Regions from separate parts of the Homo sapiens genome. Here region 2 is linked to region 1. The links are contacts of gene promoters, found by promoter capture Hi-C in blood cells and fetal thymus (Javierre and others, 2016). All regions are on one chromosome and are shown on one strand. The core of a region is centred on a gene start or on the middle of the fragment in contact, and the rest is flanking DNA. Distances in the headings are between cores, read along the strand shown.

Region 1 (6,700 bases), core at 3,892-6,391:
CTTCTAATTACACTGCTTTTTTGCCTTGACCTTTTTTCCAAACTGGTTTTAGGCATATCCACAAGCCAATTTTGATTATTTTGATTTCAAATTCTACTCCATAATTGCTTTAAAACTCAAGAGGTGAGATTTTAGTAGCCATACTTTAAAAAAGTTGTTTTTGAACAGTTATCTGACATACACACCTATACAAATAGCAAGACTTATCCTAATAGCAATACATCATCTGCCCATCACCCAAAGCAATTAAAGCTTAAAACAGGACAACTCTCCTGTATAAACAGAGTTTAATAATAAAGAAGCCGTACTTGAGGCCGGGCACAGTGGCTCACACCTGTAATCCCAGCACTTTGGGAGGCTAAGGCGGGCAGATCACGAGGTCAGCAGTTCGAGAACAGCTGGTCAACATGGTGAAACCCCATCTCTACTAAAAATACAAAAATTAGCTGAGTGTGGTGGCGGACATCTGTAATCCCAGCTACTCGGGAGGCTGAGGCAGGAGGATTGCTTGAACCTGGGAAGCAGAGGCTTCAGTGAGCCGAGATCGTGCAGCTACACTCCAGCCTGGGTGACAGAGCGAGACTCCGTCTTGGGGAGTAGCGGGGAGAAAAAAAGCCATACTCACAAATAAACCTGTTAAGATGAAAAATAAACTCATACTCAAACTGTGTTATACCATCCTTAAAGTTAGGTTTTCCTACCAAGTAAAAGTAATCATCTTCTTTTTAGTAGCTTATAATTTCTCTTTTCTGATAAAAAGAAAAATATGCTGCTAAAATCTAAGTACTAAAATCTAAGGAGACAAAATAGTGGTGAAATTTTTTATAAACTTTGTAATTAAATAATAAAGAATCGTATCATAAAAAAGAAATGTGTCACAGAACCAGTTAGATTCTATTATAGTAGAAAAAGTTGACATTTACCACATAATCTTTTCTAATAAAGAAGTCCACATAACAAGATTAAAAACAATTGTGAAGTTCTTTTAGAAAACCAATAAATGCATGATTAAAAAGTCCCACATATCTTCTTTCCTTGCATCACAAAAATAACTGGGTAAATTATGCTAGCTTTTAAATTTGAGTACTCTCAACTTTTGAGGAAAATATGTATATACTACAATCTTTAAAATATTGAGGATATTGTCATCTTTTATTCAGGAATGGATATTTGCAGATTTTTCCTAATATCTTTGAGGTAACATAAAATATTATAAAATCTCAGAATGTGTTAAACAAGTTTTATCCAATACATGCTATTCCAGTGGGATAAAAACCATTTACAAGTTCCATTTAGATTAAGAAATCCTTTGAGAAAATTATGTAGTACATTCTAGTTATACTGTTTCTAGAACAGCAAAAATCTCTATAACCTATTTCCCTACTGTTTTCTTCAGAACCAAATGAGCTGAATGTAACTTCCTTCACAAAGAGTCAAGACAGTATTATAGTTACTGTAAGAGAGCTAACTAACTGAATTTTCACCAGAGGCTGAAGTTTTCACAAATTAAAACCATTTTACTTAAATGATCTATAAAAATAATAACACTAAGTTTAAACATATTTAATTGAGTACTATTTGCAGTCACATTAGAAAATTTAATTTTAGGCCTGGCATGGTGGCTCACGTCTGTAATCCCAACCCTTTGGGAGGCCAAGGTGGGCGGATCACGAGGTCAGGAGTTCAAGACCAGCCTGACCAACATGGTGAAACCCCGTCTCCACTAAAAATACAAAACTTAGCCGGGCATGGTGGCACACGCCTGTAATCCCAGCTACTCAAGAGACTGAGGCAGGAGAATCGCTTGAACCTGGGAGGCAGAGGTTGCAGTGAGCCAAGATCGCACCACTGCACTCCAGCCTGAGTGACAGAGCGAGACTGTCTCAAAAAAAAAAAGAAAAGAAAAGAAAAAGAAAGAAAAGAAAATTTAATATTTTTCTCATACAAAACAACAAAAAGATAAATTTATTAAACTGAAGAATATGGATTCCTTTTAAAGCCAAGATTAGGGAGGTGAAAAAAGGGAAGATTTCTAAATCCAAACTGCTTAAACTGATAAGATATTTTTTCATTCCTTTAAAGCACACAAAATCATTTTTAAAATAAGACTCCCCTAAAGCTAGGAGTTCATCCACTGGCAACACCCTTTCTTTAACAAATGAGTTGCAAGTTATCGCTAGTACTCCCATTTAGACTCAAGTTGAAGGGCATTACAAAAACAATTTTATTTTTCTGCACTTTGTCATTTGATTATAACTGTCTCATCCTAATTTTATAATAGGCCAACTTTAAGCGATTCATGTTCAAAACCTTCTTACAGAAATAATCTATTGATCTCAAGAATTCAACTACTCAACCTGGCAGAAAGTATTCCAAATTATCAAAAGAAACCATGAAAATATGAAGCTTCAGTGTTCATAACGTTAGATCAAAAAACTAAAACCAAGCAAAACTATTTAGAAATCTCAGCTCCCTATTTCCTATCAAAATGTTAAAGAACTTTAGATATCTTCTTTAAACGTACTAAAGATACAAAAGTAAATTCCTTTTGACTTCAGAGGGCTGAAATGAAGAATTCAGTAACTGCGGGCAAAAATTATGGAGGGGAAAGAATTACTTGAGAAAATATTTCGTGAGACAAATACCTTTTTTTAAAAAAAAAGATGTATTAAAATCACTTACTCCCTTCTACCAGACAAACAATCCTCTCCTAGAACTCACTGCTTACAATTCAGCCAAGTATGACTGCCAAGAGTTTCTAAACCTGTGTTAGGATTTTTAAAAGTGGAAAGCTTCTCCACCAGTGTATTACAACAAAAAGTATATTTTTTAGAGTTAAAGATCAACTATTAAATACACTCCTACTGATAAACTAAATGTAAGTGATTAAAAAAAACCCAAAACTCAACTTGTAACTTAGCACAAAGTTTGCTATATAAATTGCTTGCAGTTCTAAGAGTAGGTATTTATTTGGTCCCCCAAATTGGGGCTTAAGTGGCTGAAAGAAAAAAGTTTTATAAACAGCTTTTCTAACCTTAGTTTACATTTGGTAAAACAGACCATTTATCACAATCAAGTGAACATAATGCCAAATGTTAAGATTCCAAATTTTACAGGTAAAATTTGTAAAAATTACAATAACCCAGTAATGGACTGCCACATGAGACTGTCACTGATTTTAAACATTTTTACATATATCTTAAGAATACAATGTCATGTAAGTCATGTTTAAACTTGGGATGTATGTATTTGAACTATGTAATCTTGGTTGCTTTTCTGGTAATTCTTTATCTCACAGTGGTCTGATTATAGCCAGGGCTGCTTCTTCCCATTTTACCATTAGTCAGTACATCTTAATTTTGCTTTCACCAAAACATGGACATCATAAGCCACCTCTTGCTTCCAGTTTTCTGCTTTTTACTGTAGATAACAATGACAGTGAGTTCCACCAAATGCATGTATGTGCACAGCTTTGTCATTCTTTTCCCAGCCCCCTTCTTTTCTATGAGAAAAATACGAGGAACTTAGGTTTATATAAAAATGTCGATTTTTCTTTTGCATACATAACTAATGGATTTTCAAGACAAGACAATTTATTCTGATAACTATCATCCTAGAAATGTCAAGAGAACTTCCCAAATCCAAAAATAAGAAGAAAATCTGATATTAACTGGAGAGGAAATTTCCACTCAAATCATAAATAAAATGTCATCAATTAAGCTGAACATCAATAAAACTCAGTCAAAAATCAAGCCTCAATACAGAACCCACACATAACCCACATGTAATCAAAATATCACTTATATTTGCTAGCGGAGTTCACAGATGAATTCTGTATGTGCGCCAGATTTATCTTATTTTGTAATGCTGGGGTTAATATTTATTGGTATAAATCAGGGCCCACACTAAGTGTCCTGGGGAGAGGCAATCCAAAGAACGCTTAGTAGCATGATAAAACCGGTCCAAAACGAAAAAAAAGAAAAAAAGCCAAGTCCTAACACAACAGAGCGAATAAGCGACAAATAGATCACAGAAAGCAAAACGAAAACGGTCCTCTCCGGAGTAGCCTGAATAAAAGATCTTCACTCATAACGTTTAATAGTATCCTACCTCACTTCATTCACTTCCCAACTTCCTTTTACTTTTCAAGGGCCACCACGGGGCTTCCCTTTTTCTGGAAGTGTATATTGAAAGGATCTGTACAGGAAAGAGGGAAGGAACGGACAATTCTCAAGAAGGCTGAGAAACAGGTGGGTTAGCAGGAGGAGCATAATCTAGATACTTAAGGGGCAGCTTTAAGATGACAGATGTGGTGGAAGGAAAGACTGCAAATCGGAAGCAGCTCTAGTGTGGCAGATACACTGTGGGCTGATTGCAAGCACCAGAGGGGGGCAAAGGCTAACTCCAGAGTGGTAGCAGTGGAGCAAAAAAACAAGCAGCAGGACGAGTGGGCAATGAGCAGTGGGATTAATGAGCAGCAGCAGCCAACACGGATCAGAGTGGAAGTGATGGCTTTGGTCTTGGGAGACGGGGGCCAGAGGGAAAGGACGTCAGACAGGGAACAGGGGATTGGGGAAACAAGGAGGGCTGAGACCTAAGAATCCTGCCCCGGTGAAAATGCAGGGGGAAAAGCTGGAGACCAAAAGCCGCCTCGGCTCCCCAATTAAAGAAATTCTCGAAGGAGAGTCGCTGCTTGCCGCCGCGCTGCCTTCTGACCCGCTCCCTTTTCCTTATGGTAACTGCTGTGGCGTAAAGGGGAGAGGGAGGAAGAGGAGGAGGAGGAAGAAGACCAAGGAGGAGGAGGGTGAAGATGAGGCGGGGGGTGGGGAGAAAGGGGGGTGCGGCCTGTACAGTCCCAGCGAAGCCTCCGCTCTCTCGTAGCCGGTCAGCCCCGGGTTTCCCCTAAGCCCAGCCCCGCATAGACTCACCCGCCTGCCTTGCCTCGCTTTTCCCTCAGCCGACTCCACGGGCTGCCGCGTCCTCACAAGAAACCACCGAACGAGCGTCGGGGAAAAAACTCTTCAGAACCGGGCCTGATTGCTTCAGCGAGTCCGACCTTTACGGCTGAGAGAGAGACTCTCAGCTTTCGGTGGGTTCCACAGCCAGACGGGCCACCATCTTACATTAGGGTAAGACTCCTCCGGCCTCCCGTGCGCAGGCGCACGCTGATCCGGCCAGGAGGGGCGGGGGAGGGGCGGGAGGAGCGGCGGGCGGCTGAGTGGGAGGTTGCGGTGGCCGCTCCCGCAGCACCCTGGGAGTTGAAGTCCTCGGAGGGTAACCTCCCAGGGGCACGCCGGGAGTTGAAGTCCTCTCTCAGAGGGCGGAGGGGATCGCCCACCTCACGTGGCTGCTGGACTGATGCCTTTCTTCGTGTTTTGCTTCCTTCTCTGCACGCGTGTGCTGCTTCAATGTCATTTGGTCGGCGGTTTTCACTAGTGATTCCGTGTCCTCGGTGTTTGCGGAAATGTGCTACCCCAAGACTGGGGCGAGGCTAAACAGTTTTTCGGGGAGCCCGGAATGTTTATTCTCTGCCCCGCCCACCAGGGATATCTAAAGGGGGCGGGGTGGAGGTGGAGGCAGGTTGTGGGTACGAAGAGCGCGGGATTTGATCCAGGGTGAGAATTTGATACAGACTTGGCGTCTGTTTGCGAACAAGGAGGAAACAGGCGCCTGTTTAATTCATTTCCCTGTCCTTGCGCATTTGGGGCCACCACCCTTGATCCCTTCTTCACTGTAAAATCACCAGTGAAGACATACACTAAATTGTTCTGTGCAGATTACCCAAGAGAACGGAACACCCGTGCACTTACAATAACGTGCTTCTGTTGGTGTGAATTTGAGAATTTGCGGACCTCGGTGCAAATTAGTGTTAGTTCGGTGTCCAGCCAGCACAGCTGTGTGCAAGTTTACAAACTACACACATCGGCACATCCCCAAGAACAATAAATGCAGCCACAATCCCTACGAGCACTGAGGAATCATCAGTCACAAAAGTCAGTCAATGTACTGGTCGCCCCGTTTGCATCCCAGAACTCTGGTGGAAGTGGCGCTCGAAGCAGTAACTTTTGCTTATTGCATGTATTCTTCACCCACTCATACAGCAAATACTCAATGAGCTCCTCCTAGCTGCCGGGTACTCTTCTATATATTGAGAATACAATGGTGAGCAAAATAGAAAAAATTCCCTGTCCCTATTCTAGTGATGTGTTGGGATGAGGAAGAGGAGAGAAGAGGCATTATTTTAAAAATACGTGATTAAAATGCATAGTATGTCATAACCGATTTTAAAAACTTAAAGCAGGGAAGGGGAGTAGGGAAAGAGGTTGCAGTTTTAAATTTACGAACTTAATTTCATAATAAGCCCTCAATTCATTGTTTTTTCTTTTTTTTTTTTTTTGAGACGGAGTCTAGCTCTGTCACCCAGGCTGGAGTGCAGTGGCGCGATCTCGGCTCACTGCGACCTCCGCCTGCCGGATTCAAGTGATTCTCCTGCCTCAGCCTCCCGAGTAGCTGGGATTACAGGCACGTGCCACCACGCCAGGCTAATTTTTATATTTTTAGTAGAGACAGGGTTTCACCATGTTGGTCAGCCTGGTCTCGAACTCCTGACCTCAGGTAATCTGCCTGCCTCGGCCTCCCAAAGTACTGGGATTACAGACGTGAGCCAGGGCACCCGGCCTCATTCTTTTGGTACATTGGT
Region 2 (7,047 bases), core at 1,186-3,685, 60 kb before region 1:
TGAACAAATTGTACATGCAGTGACCTCGAGAGTCGTATGGATCTGGCTAAGAAGCAATTTATGTCCTAGAGTATTGTTAAAGACAATAGAGTAGTCAGCCAGAAATCAGTGGAGATAAAAAGCTGGGTGTGGTCAGAAAAAGAAACAGAAGAAAGCTCTGCCAAACACTGTCAGCCCAACACTGCCAGGTGCCATGTGGTCATACACAAGTCTGTGCCCCTAAGGAGCAACACCAGAGGCTTAAACACTGCAAGGGGGGAAACAGAAATCACTGAAACAGGGCAACAGAAGTCACTAAACAAATAAGCAAATAATTGTAACAAGCCCTGGAAACGAGCAGGGGGTTGAAAGATCAGTACCCAGAGTTGTTGCAATGTTATACAAGATGTTCAGTTTCCAACATAAAATTACGAGCCATGTAAAGAAATAGGAAAGTGCTGAGTGTGGTGGCTCACGCCTGTAATCCCAGCACTTTGGGAGGCCGAGATGAGTGGATCACAAGGTCAGGAGTTCGAGACCAGCCTGGCCAACATGGTGAAACTCCATCTCCACTAAAAATACAAAAAATTAGCCAGGCGTGGTGGCGGGCACCTGTAATCCCAGCTACTAGGGAGGCTGAGGCAGGAGAACTCCTTGAACCCAGGAGACAGAGGTTGCGGTGAGCAGAGAATCAGCCTGGGTGACAGAGCAACTCTGTCAAAAAAAGAAAAAAAAAGGGAGGGAGGGAGGGAGGGAAGGAAGGAAGGAAGGAAGGACCCATATACCAGAGAAAAATAAAGGCAAAGGACACTACCTGCAAGAGCAACCAGATGATGGATTTAACCAACTTCAAAATGCCATTATAAATATGTCCAAAGAACTAAAGGATACCATAATTGCAGAAGGAAGGTATAATGACAGTATCTCAGCAAATGGACAATATCGATAAAGAGACATTATTAAAAAGAACCAAATGGAAATTCTGGAGTTGAACACTGACTAGAAAAAATCACTAGAGGAGCTCAAAAGTACATTTGAACTGGCAGAAAAAAGAACTGGCAAACTTGAAGACAGATTGATAGAGATGATGCAATCCAAAGAATAGAGAGGAAAAAAAAGAGTGAAAAAAATACAAAGCCTCAGAGAAATATGAAACATCAATAAGCACATGAACATACACATAATGGGAGTAGTAAACAGACAGGAGAGAGAGGGAAAGGGAAAGAAAAACTATCTTAAGTAATGATGACTGTATAAAAATGAAGAACTACAGGTAACACAGATGAATCTCCCAAACATAATTTGAGCAAAAACAGCAAGACAAAGTATACGATGCTGGTCATATAAATTTCAACAAAGGAAACTATATTTTAGGGATGCACATAAAGGTGATAAAAGTCATGATAGTGACTACCTCTAAGGAAAGGGAGACGACTTCAAATGGCAAGGGGTGTATGGGGCAGGGGGATTCTGAGGTACGTGAAATATTCTGCTTTTGACCTCGGAAGAGTCTACAAAGACATCTACTTTATAACGAAACTGTACCTGTTTTATATGTTTCTGAATGTATATTTCCTTTTTCAAAGTTTTAAAAGAAAGAGACACTAGCTGCAAATTTCCAAGAATTGGTTAAAAGTAATCCCTAGACCCAGAAAGTACAACATACCCAAATGTGATCAATAAGCCCACATCCAGATACAAAGTAGTAAAATTGCACAACACTAAAGACAACAAGAACCATAAAGGAAGCCATAAAGAAAGAATCCTTCACCCAATGGAATAATTAGAGTAACAGCAAGTAACAGCAAGGAAGCCAGAAGGCAGTAATGTATCTTCAAGATATGAAGAGAAAATTACTGTCAACCTACAACTGAGCACCTAGGAAATAACAACCCTGAAAAAATGAGAGTAAAATTATAAAAAGACATTTCAAAGACAACTGAAAAGACTTTGACATGGACTAGGTGTTAGATGATGTTAAGGAATTACTGCTAATTTAGTTAGGAATGAGAATATTGTGGGTTTTTTTTTTTTTAACCTCTTCTCTAGGAGATACATTCTAAAGTATTGACAGACTTCATGATTGGATATTCCAGCAGGAAGGAAGGCACAGAGAGGTAAAGAGACCCCTCTTTAAACATGAAATTATAAAGTATCAATAACAGGAAACTGAGGAATGGAAATACTGGATTTCATCATAGCATTTGTTCTACTTTCATGTATGCTTAAAAAATTTTCATGACAAACAGCTAAAAATAGTCAGGCACAGTGGCCAACACGTGTAATCCCAGCTACTTGGGAAACTGAGGCAGGAGAATCGCTTAAGCCCAGGAGTTCAAGGCCAGCCTGGGCAACATAGTAAGACCCTGACTCAAAAAGAGAAATGAGGCTAAATTAAAAATTAAATAAACAAAAACTGGCAATTTACCACTAAAAGACCTCCACTAATGAAACTTCTGAAGACGTTTTTTAAGAAGGAGGAAAATAATCCAGGAGGACAGTCAGAAATTTTTTTTTCTGTTTGTTTGTTTGTGTCAGGGACTCCTCTGTCACCCAGGCTGGAGTGCAGTGGCGTGATCTCGGCTCACTGCAACCTTCGCCTCCTGGGTTCAAGCGATTCTCCTTCCTCAGCCTCCTGAGTAGCTGATATTCTGGTTAAAAGTAATCCTTAGACCCAGATTACCAGGCAGGTGCACACCACCACGCCTGGCTAATTTTTGTATTTTTGGTACAGACGGGGTTTCACCATGTTGAATAGGCTGTTCTCAAACTCCTGGCCTCAAGTGATCCACCTGCCTCAGCCTCCTAAAGTGCTGTGATTACAGGCGTGAGCCGCTGTGCCCAGCTACAGTCAGAAATTGAAGGCATGGTAAGGAAAGATGTGGTAAAAATGTGCGTAAACTGAATCACACATTTCTCTATAAAATAACAACAATGTCTGTCTAATTTGTTAGATTTAAAAAGGATAAAATGTCTATTGGGAGGGGAGTGATATAAGATAAACTGCTCTAAGGTCCAACTTAAAGAGTAACATGAATGGTCGGGAGGTCAAGGCATTAAGAATCACTTGAACCCAGGAGGCAGAGGTTGCAGTGAGCCGAGATCACGCCACTGCACTCCAGCCTAGGTGACAAAGTGAGACTGACTCAAAAAAGAAAAATAAGACCCTCCAGAAAAAGAGGGTAAAAAAAGAGTAACATGAATGGTAAAATTTCAAGGGTAATCACATAATCCTCTATGATCTACTAACCCCACCTCTGCATAACAGCCTTAGAGAAACAGTTGCACATCTGCATGAGTAGAAGCAATTGCAGGAATGTTTTGCAATAGCAAAAAATTGGGACTCCCAATGTCTATCAATAGGAAAGGCTAAGTTACTGTGTATCAGTAAAATTAAATAAAGCAGTTTTAAAGAACTAAATCTGTACATACTAACATACTGAATGAAAAGAAAACTAATTGCAGGTACTGTATAACAGTTGTGTTTTGTTTTGTCTTGTTTTTGTTCGAGAGATTCTCATTCTGTACCCCAGGCTGGAATGCATGGCATGATCTTGGCTCATTGCAGCATCCACCTCCCGAGTTCAAGCAATTCTCATCCCTCAGATTTCCTAGTAGCTGGGATTACAGGCATGCACCACCACACCTGGCTAATTTTTGTATTTTTAGTAGAAATGGGGTTTCATACATTGGACAGGGTGGTCTCGAACTCCTGGACTCAAGTGATCTGCCCGCCTCGACCTCCCAAAGTGCTGGAATTACAGGTATGAGCTACCACACCCAGCCAACTGTTTTTACACTAAAAAAGAAATCATACATGTTCTCTACATATGTATAGTATAAGCAAACCCTTAGGGGGAAAAATGACATATAAACTGCTAATAGTGACTACCTTTAGGAAAATAAAGAAGGGAATGGGAGCAATCAGAAAGCTGAACCTTATCTATGTGTTTTTGCAAAGAGACTATTTATGTATTTCTTCTATAATAGCAATTAATTTTTAAAAGGCAACTTTTTAAAGAGTATTAAACTTTGAATCCTTTGAGTGCAAAGACTGTGCCTATGTTATTCAACACTGTACCATAGACATGTGCAAGTATTATATGCTCCCAAAACTGTATATGGAGGATGGCAGAGAGACAAATAAAACAGTGATTCAGGTTGTGTGTAGTGGCTCGCAGCTGTAATCCCAGCACTTTGTGAGGCTGAGGAGGGAGGCTCACCTGATGCTAGGAGTTCAAGACCAGCCTGGGCAACATAGCGAGACCCTATCAGTACAAAAAATAGCTGGGCATGGAGGAGCACACCTGTAGTGCCAGCTACTGCGGAGGCTGAGGCAGAAGGATCGCTTGAGCCCAGGAGTTCAAGGCTGCAGTGAGCTATGATCACGTCACTACACCATAGCCTGGGTGACAGAGTAAGAACCTGTCTCTAAAAGAGGAATAGTAATAAAAGAGTGTATCAAAGGACATGTAAGAAAATAGGGACAGGCATGGTGGCTCACGCCTGTCCCAGAACTTTGGGAGGCCAAGGCAGGTGGATCACCTGAGGTCAGGAGTTCGAGACCAGCCTGGCCAACATGGCGAAACCCTGTTTCTACTAAAAATACAAAAATTAGCCAAGCGTGGTGGCACACACTTGTAATCCCAGCTACTTGAGAGGCTGAGGCAGGAGAACCACATGAACCTGGGAGGCGGAGGTTGCAGTGAGCTGAGGTCGTATCACTGCATTCCAGCCTGGGCAACAAGAGTGAAACTCCATCTCAAGAAAAGAAAAAGAAAAGAAAATAGCAGTGTCTGTCACTGAGTAGAGGGCTAGAGGTAGTTCGTTTTCTTCCTTTTATTTTTCAATCTTTAGAAATGAACGTTTACTTGTATAATGAGAAAAACTATATTAAATTAGTTGAAAATTTAAGTATGACGGACAAATAAAAAGGGACAATAGAGTGATGAGATGAAAAAACTTCTGAATGTATAATTAGAGATTAGCATCAGTATGTTTCCTATCAATTTAATGCTCAGGAGGAGGCCAGGAGTTTATAAAATTAAAGGCTAAGCCCGATGAAAGTGTTATTAATAGGTAAAATCAAATCTGCACAAAATCGAAGCTGAGACTAATTAGTGTGCTAAATAATTCTCTACCACACTTGTGAAGGTTGTCAAGAAAAGGAATTGCCTATATCAATTTATTTTCAACTGAAAAATACAGTTTTATTTGGGGGAAAAAGTATCTGATAGGGTATAACACCTTTGAAGTTTGTAAGGACTTATCTAGAAACCTAATTAAAACAAAAGGATCCAGGTATTATAAGCTTAAAACCCTTCTAGTCCGTCTGGACTCCTATAAATTAGTCTTTTTAGAGATACTTCTGTACATCAATTTACAGTATACCACTAGTAATGGATAAAACAGAAAAAATTAATCCAAGGAGAAACACTAAACTGAAAATGAAGTGCAAGACCCAGTCTTAGCCAGTGAATTTTTTTTTAAGCTCATGTTTATTAGCCTGGTTAAATGCAACCACTTCTTTAGCCAAACTGTCAGCTAGTCACTTACATTCTACCACCTCCTAAATTCTAACCCCAGATGGCATGCTACTAATCTTATGCTCCTTGCCCACCAAGAGATCTCTGCCAGTGTATCTGTCTCAAACTTCATTCAGGAATATCCTGCCACCACTTCTGCAGTTTTACTTCATGGAAAGCATTGATTCATATGGAAGTCCAACCTTTCAGTGTTTTGGGCTAGGTAGGGCATAAGGGGACATGGAGGAAGCGTACAGTAAGACAGAATTCATAAAGGAGGGCAGATAACAGGTATCTGGGTAAATAATGATTTTTAAATGAAAGAAAATGATTTTTGAAAATTTAAACAAAAATAAAACAATCAAGCTTATGTATGAGTATTTTCCTGGAATTGTTTTATATATATATGTTATATTATATATATATAAAATATAACATATATATGGATACAAAAATATTTTTATATATAAATATATATAATAAATATATATATTTTATATATATATATATATATATTATATATATAGCTGGTACAGCAGCTCATGCCTATAATCCCAGCACTTTGGGAGGCCAAGGCAGGTGGATCGCTTGAGCTCAGGAGTTCAAGACCAGCCTGGGCAATATGGCGAAACCCTATCTCTATAAAAAATATATATACATATATATATATATATATATTTGATTTCTAGATATGCTACCATGCAGCCATCTGGAATAAAACTAAATAATAAATACTTTTAAGGGGTCTAAAATACAGAAATATAGCTATTAATTCTTCTTTAAAAGGAAGAAAAAATTTAGTGTTTTAACATTTGTTCCTCTCTAATCTCCATGTGTGCCTCACTTCTATTATGACTCAGTAAAGCCTAGAATGGTAACCGTTTTACACCATAAAACTAAAATAGTAAAGTCAAGAGTCCTCTGGTCCACACACAACTAGTTCATTCCTGTTTCCAATAGAAAATGTTAACCAAATTAGTATTACTACAGAAAGTCTCACAGAGAATGTATATGTCAGAATGTTTTCAAGAATAAAACAAGGCCGGGCACAGCAACTCATTCCTGTAATCTCAGCACTCTGGGAGGCCAAGGCAGGTGGATCGCTTGAGCTCAAGAGTTAAAGACCAGCCTGGGCAATATGGCGAAACCCTATCTCTATAAAAATAAAAAATTAATTAAAAAATTAAAAAAAAATAGCCAGGTGCGGTGGTACGCACCTGTGGTCCCAGCTACACAGGAGGGTGAGGCAGAAGAATCACTTGAGCCTGGGAAGTGGAAGTTGCAGTGAGCCAAGAGTAAAAGCCTGTCTCAAAAAAATAAAATAAAAAAAGTAAATAAGTAAAAACAAAAAGGAGCTTGAGACCAGCCTGGGCAACGTGGTGAAACTCCATCTCTACAAAAAGTACAATAATGAGCTGGGTATGGTGGCGTGTGCCTGTAGTCCCAGGGGGCTGAGGCACAAGAATCACTTGAGCCTGGGAAGAGGAGGTTGTAGTGAGCCGAGATCATGCCACTTCACTCCAGCCTGTGTGACAGAGTGACA

What was found. The method cuts DNA at HindIII sites, captures the fragments that hold promoters and counts their contacts. A CHiCAGO score of 5 or more calls a contact.
Region 2: a contact is called between a fragment that was not itself captured here and the fragment with the promoter of CNOT4 in region 1, in 1 of 17 cell types (megakaryocytes). The highest score is 5.4, in megakaryocytes.

Annotation. Positions count from the first base shown.
Region 1 is chr7:135,504,961-135,511,660 of GRCh38, forward strand. It overlaps CNOT4 (CCR4-NOT transcription complex subunit 4), which reads right to left and starts at 5,142. Exons shown (of 12, transcript NM_001190850.2): 1 at 4,929-5,142. RefSeq lists enhancers at 4,212-5,117, 4,888-5,087, 5,118-6,022, 5,398-5,517, 5,668-5,837 and a silencer at 5,088-5,327. The HindIII fragment of the contact is 7,472 bases long and covers 2,791-6,700 here.
Region 2 is chr7:135,447,828-135,454,874 of GRCh38, forward strand. All of the region lies in intron 1 of CNOT4 (CCR4-NOT transcription complex subunit 4), which reads right to left. Among named protein-coding and RNA genes, the nearest start is that of CNOT4, 59 kb to the right of the region's middle. The HindIII fragment of the contact is 5,706 bases long and covers 1-5,288 here.